Regions from separate parts of the Homo sapiens genome. Here region 1 is linked to region 2. The links are contacts of gene promoters, found by promoter capture Hi-C in human tissues and cell types (Jung and others, 2019). All regions are on one chromosome and are shown on one strand. The core of a region is centred on a gene start or on the middle of the fragment in contact, and the rest is flanking DNA. Distances in the headings are between cores, read along the strand shown. Region 1 has its middle 10 kb from the start of ENTPD3. Region 2 holds the start of ZNF621 (zinc finger protein 621).

What was found. The method cuts DNA at HindIII sites, captures the fragments that hold promoters and counts their contacts. A contact is called where the count stands out against the background at its distance.
Region 1: a fragment that was not itself captured here is called in contact with the fragment with the promoter of ZNF621 in region 2 in 1 of the 25 tissues and cell types used here (pancreas).

The regions. Positions count from the first base shown.
Region 1 is chr3:40,375,263-40,378,195 of GRCh38, reverse strand. No RefSeq gene overlaps it. Among named protein-coding and RNA genes, the nearest start is that of ENTPD3, 10 kb to the left of the region's middle. The HindIII fragment of the contact is 8,863 bases long and covers 1-2,933 here.
Region 2 is chr3:40,523,486-40,526,531 of GRCh38, reverse strand. ZNF621 (zinc finger protein 621) reads right to left here and starts at 1,572. Exons shown (of 5, transcript NM_198484.5): 1 at 1,258-1,572; 2 at 668-753. The coding sequence starts at 691. RefSeq lists enhancers at 1,091-1,230, 790-1,602, 1,881-1,970 and a silencer at 1,531-1,690. The HindIII fragment of the contact is 18,179 bases long and covers 1-3,046 here.

The sequences.
Region 1 (2,933 bases), core at 327-2,826, 150 kb after region 2:
TCTGTGTGTCTTCTTGGCATCTTTGTCAAAAATCAGTTGGCTCTTTGTCAAAAATCAGTTGGCTATAAATGTGTATGTAAGTGCGTGAATTTATTTCTGTGTTCCCTATTTTGTTTCATTGGCCTATGTGTCTATTTTTAATGCCAGTACCAGGCTGTTTTGATTATTATAGCTTTGCAGTATATTTTGAAATCAGGTCATGTGATGCCACCAGCTTTGTTCTTTTTGCTTAAAATTGCTTTGGGTGTTCAAAGTCTTTTGTGGTGCCATACAAATATTTTTATTATTGTTTTTTTCTATTTCTGTGAAGAGTATCATTGATATTTTGATAGGGATTGCATTGAATCTATAGATTGCTTTGTATAGTATGGACATTTTAACAATGTTAGCTTTTCAAATCCATGAACATGTGATATCTTTCCATTTATTTGTGTCTTCTTCAGTTTCTTTTACTAATGTTTTTCAGTTTTCATTGTATAAAACTTTCACTTCCTTAATTAAGATTATTCCTAGGCTTGCTTTCTCTTTCTTTCTTTCTTTCTTTCTTTCTTTCTTTCTTTCTTTCTTTCTTTCCTTCCTTCCTTCCTTCCTTCCTTCCTCTCTTTCTTCTTTCTTTCTTTCTTTCTCTCTCTCTCTCTCCCTCCCTCCCTCCCTCCCTCTCTCTCTCTCTCTCTCTCTCTCTCCCTCCCTCCCTCCCTCTCTCTCTCTCTCTCTCCCTCTCTCTCTCTCTCTCTCCCTCCCTCCCTTCCTTCCTTACTTCCTTCTCTTGCTTTCTTCTCTGACAGAGTCTCACTCTATCACCCAGGCTGGAGTACAGTGGCACAATCTCAGGTCACTGCAACCTCCACCTTTTGATTTCAAGTGATTCTCCTTCTCAGCCTCCCGAGTAGTTGGGATTACAGGCACCCACCATGACACTCGGCTAATTTTTGTATTTTTAGTAGAGATGGGTTTTCGCCATGTTGACCAGGCTGGTCTTGAACTCCTGACCTCAGATGATCTGCCACCTTGGCCTCCCAAAGTGTTGGGATTACAGGCCTGAGCCCCTTTCTTCCTTCCTTCCTTCCTTCCTTCCTTCCTCCCTCCCTCCCCTCCCCTCCCTTCCCTTCCCTTCCCTTTCCTTCCTTCCTTCCTTCCTTCCTTCCTTCCTTCCTTCCTTCCTTCCTTCCTCCCTTCCTTCCTTCCTTCCCTCCCGCCTGCCTTTCTCTTCTTCTCTTTGGTAGCTTTTGTAAGTGGGATTGCTTCTCGATTTCTTTTTCTGAAAGTTCACTATTGGTGTATTGAAATGCTACTAATTTTTGTATGTTTATTTTATATCATGCAACTTTACTGAATTTGTTTATTAGTTTCAACAGTTTTTTGTGAAGTTTTTAGGGTTTTCTATGTATAAAATTATGTTGTCCACAAACAGGAATAATTTGTCTTCCTCCTTTCCAATTTGGTTGCCCTTTATTTTTTTCTCTTGCCTAACTGATCTGTAGAACTTTCAGTGCTATGTTGAATGAAATTGTTGAAAGTGAGCATTCTTGTCTTTTTTTAGATCTCATAAGAAAAGCTTTCAACTTTTCCCTGTTAAGTATGATGTTAGCTGTGAGTTTGTCATATATGGCCTTTGCTGTGTTGAGGCACATTCCTTCTATACCTAGATTGTAGAGAGTTTTTATCATGAAATGATATCAAATTTTATCAAATGCTTTTTTGTGTGTTTATTGAAATGATCGTATGGTTTATGTCTTTGATTCTGTTAGTGTGGTGTGTCATGCTTATTGATTTACATATGTTGAACCATCTTTGCATCCCTGGGATGAGTCTTCCTCGATCATGGGGAATGATCTTTTTTTTTTTTTATTATACTTTAAGTTTTAGGGTACATGTGCACAACGTGCAGGTTTAGTTACGTATGTATACAGGTGAATGATCTTTTAAATGTGATGTTGAATTGGTTTGCCAGCGTTTTGTTGAAAATTTTAACATCTATGTTGATCAGAGGTATTGGCCTGTAGTTTTCTTTTTTGTTGTTGTTTCGCTCTGGTTTTCATACCAGGGTAATGCTGGCCTCATAGAATGAGTTTGGAAGAATTCGCTCTTTAATTTTTTGGAATAGTTTGGGAATAATTGGTATTAGTTCTTTAAATGTTTGGTAGAATTCAGCAGTAAAACCATCAGGTCCTGGACTTTTCTTTGATGAAAAACTTTTTATTATTCAATCTTGTTACTTGTTATTGGTCTGTTCAGGCTTCTTCCCATTCTTTGCCATTTTACTTAGTTTTTACCATTTTTTACAATGAACCCCTTTGGCAGTCTGGTTAAGCTGATAGATGTTCTCAAAACATGTTATTAAATATATAAAATGAAACAGAATTACACAGGAATTCTTTATATTAAATTCATTTCAAAATGTTTTAAAAATTGTATTAGTCTGTTCTCACTCTGTTAATAAAGACATACCCAAGACTGGGTAATTTATTTAAAAACAGAAGTTTAATGGACTCATAGTTCCACATGGTGGGGGAGGCCTCACAATCATGACTGAAGGTGAATGAGGAGCAAAATCATATCTGACATGGCAGCAGGCAAGAGAGCATGTGCAGGGGAATGCTCCTTTATAAAACCATTAGATCTCATGAGATTTGTTCACTATCATGAGAACAGCATGGGAAAAATCCGCCCCCATGATTCAGTTACTTCCCACTGGGTCCCTCCCATGACACATGGGGATTATGGGAGCTATAATTCAAGATGAGATTTGGGTGGAGACACAGCCAAACCATATCAAAAATCAAATTTGTGGTTTAACATATATATATACATATATATATGTGTGTGTGTATATATATATATATATATATATATATATATATATATATATATATGCTTCTTTATTAAATCATTACATAATGAGATCCAGAAGCAGGTCTAACTTCCACTCTCAT
Region 2 (3,046 bases), core at 323-2,822:
CTCTGGGATACATACAATACAATTTGTGGGCAATCTCTCCAATAAAGAATTTCTGATTTCAAGCTAGTGCGGTGGCTCATGCCTATAATCCCAGCACTTTGGGAAGCCGAAGCGGGTGGATCACCTGAGCTCAGGAGTTCAAGACCAGCCTGGCCAACGTGGTGTAAACCCCGTCTCTACTAAAAATACAAAAATTAGCCACACGTGGCGGCGCACATCTGTAATCCCAGCTACTTAGGAGGCTGAGGTATGGGAATCACTTGAACCCAGGAGGCAGAGGCTGCAGTGAGCCGATATCATAGTGCCACTACACTCCAGCTTGGGCGACAGAGTGAGACTCCGTCTCACAAAAAATGAGTCTGATTTCAGTAGGTGACTTTCATTTCTAGAACACGATCTGGATTTCCACATTCAGAAAGAATTTCTTGGTATAGGTCCCCTTTCTTCCATTTAAATCTATACATCCAAACTCATCACTCTCTATACACAAAACTTTCATTTCCCCAGCACATATTTACATCTGCCATAGCCCTGGAGATAGATACAAAGGGGAAAACACAGCTTGGCCAAGTTAGGCCTTCCTCATCCTTTCCTGATTATCTGATAGCTAATGTGAGTAAAAAAACATAAACAAACAAACAAAAAAACTGAAAGAAGCTCAGCTCACCTGAGGCCAAGTTGTTTGGAGCATGGCGGATGTCCCCTGGCTTCATGCACTGTCTTCTGGGTTTGGACAAGCAAGATCCTCAAGAGCTAAGAGAAAAAGAGCCATGAGTGCTAAGGACCCTGTCGTCCACCACCTACAGCAACCTATGGCCCTCCCAGTTTCCACATTTCCAGCACTGGATGCACGGAGATTCTACTAGGACTCCCTCTAATTGTTCTCACGCTGATAGCCCCAAACTTCTTATGAATTGTTCTGCCTAGTCTTCAGGACAATCTTCCACCTGCCTGCTCAGTCCGAAGAGCTTTTTTTGAGCCCATTCGTACGGGTAAACTGAGGGACCCAAGAGCCCTGTCCCTATTGTGTTGGGTCTCTACAAACGTAAAGAGTCTTTACAGAATGCTTACAGGGACGATGACGTGGACCCAAAAGAAAGAACCTCAGGAGAAGAGGGACTGGGGTGGCTGAATGCGGATTAAGGGTAAAATACTCAGCGTCCCAGTGGGTGATGCTGACCGGAGACCCCACCCAACCGTGATCTTAACACTCCACCCAAGAAAACAGGCAACCCCAAACATCAGAAACGTCAGTACCGGGAGCCAGAGGCTGTCAGGGCAAGTTCTTTAGGGCAGAAAAGAGGATCAGGCCTCGGTGGCAAAGGGCTGGACACGGGCTCTAGAAGCCCGAGCAGCCACCTTGACGGCTTCGGCGAGGCCCAGATGCCCACGGTCCGGGTGAAGGAGGGGCGGGCCGCCATTGGGACCAAGTTCAGGGGTAGTGGGGGCTGACGAGCCGCCAGGGGCAGCGAGGAAGCCGGCACCGGGCGGACCTGGCACGTAGAACTCGCTGAAACCCACGCTCTGCAGAACGCCGAGGAGCTGGTCACTAACTAAAGGCCGAGCCGGAAGGGCGAGTGCACGCCCAGGGTCCCTCTAGGCCCCCGGAGGCCGCCATCTCGGTCGCCCCGTGGCCAGACCCGCCCCGCCTTTCATGGCTGGCCCCGCCCTGCGGAAGAGGCGAGGTTGCGGCGACCGGCTGGGCTGAGAGGCCGGCGGCGGGCGTGGAACTGTGGCGCTCTAAGCCCGGCTTTCTCCGGCAGCCGTCGGCATCGCCTCTGGCTGGAGTGTCACGGACTGATACAGCCTGGCTCTACCGAGACCTCGCCCTCTAGGCACAAGTGGGCCCCCAGTTCACGGGCTGCGCCTCAGCTGTTGGCCGCCTTGGCCCCGTGGCTCACCTGAAGCCTGGGCCGTGCAGGTGAGGGGAGAATGGCGCCTGCTTTGTCATCTCTAAGAGGCCCAAGCCCAGGATCTTGCTTGGGTCCTCAGCTGGGCAGTCCTCAGGGAAACCATGGTTTCCACTCGCCGTTTTAGCCCTCTCCCTTCCAAGGACCTAGATGTGCGTAGAACCTTTTAGGACAGATTCATTTAACAACCAAAACACCCGTGGCTACATACAGTTGCTAGGCATCCTGTATACACAGGACATGTCCTATATTAAATGATCTTGTCCTGTGTTGACTTTGGGAGGACACCCTAAATGTCTTATATTTAGCTTTTTCCAATAAATTACAAAAACTCGTAGTTACAGCTATTTTTCTGCTCAGTAACTGGCACTTAAATAAAATGTTAACACCAGCTGAAATATATATATCTCATACTTCCATAAATAATGATCTGGACAGACCTTTATGGTCTGTTCTGTTAGTTGGACTGCAGGAAGAAAAAACAGTGAAGAGGGGAGGCTGCTAATTAAAAGAACTTACTTTTCATATTCAGGAAAGGAAAAGACTGTTTTTTGACCAAAGTCCCAAGTCACTAACAAGTACTTGCCATTAATTTACATAATTTTAGATCAGTACACGTACTCTGAAAATCAACCAGTACACAACAGCCTCACTCCAAGCTTCTGAACATGAGCCAGTCAGTGATAAACACTTCCCGAAGCCAGCCAGTGGCAGCTCTACCCAGCTCATTGGCAAGTACCTCACTACTGTGCCCTTCCTTCTGGACAGGAGCCTTTCTCCAGTATCAAAGTGGTTGCTAAGATGGACAGACTTTGTTTTTTTTTTTTTTGCTTGTTTTTTGTTTGTTTGTTTTTTTGAGACGGAGTCTCGCTCTGTCGCCCAGGCTGGAGTGCAATGGCGCAATCTCGGCTCACTGCAAGCTCTGCCTTCTGGGTTCACGCCATTCTCCTTCCTCAGCCTCCCGAGTAGCTGGGACTACAGGCACCCCGCCACCACGCCCAGCTAATTTTTTGTATTTTTAGTAGAGACGGGTTTTCACCGTGTTAGCCAGGATGGTGTCGATCTCCTGACCTTGTGATCCGTGCACCTCGGCCTCCCAAAGTGCTGGGGATTACAGGCGTGAGCCACCGCGCCCG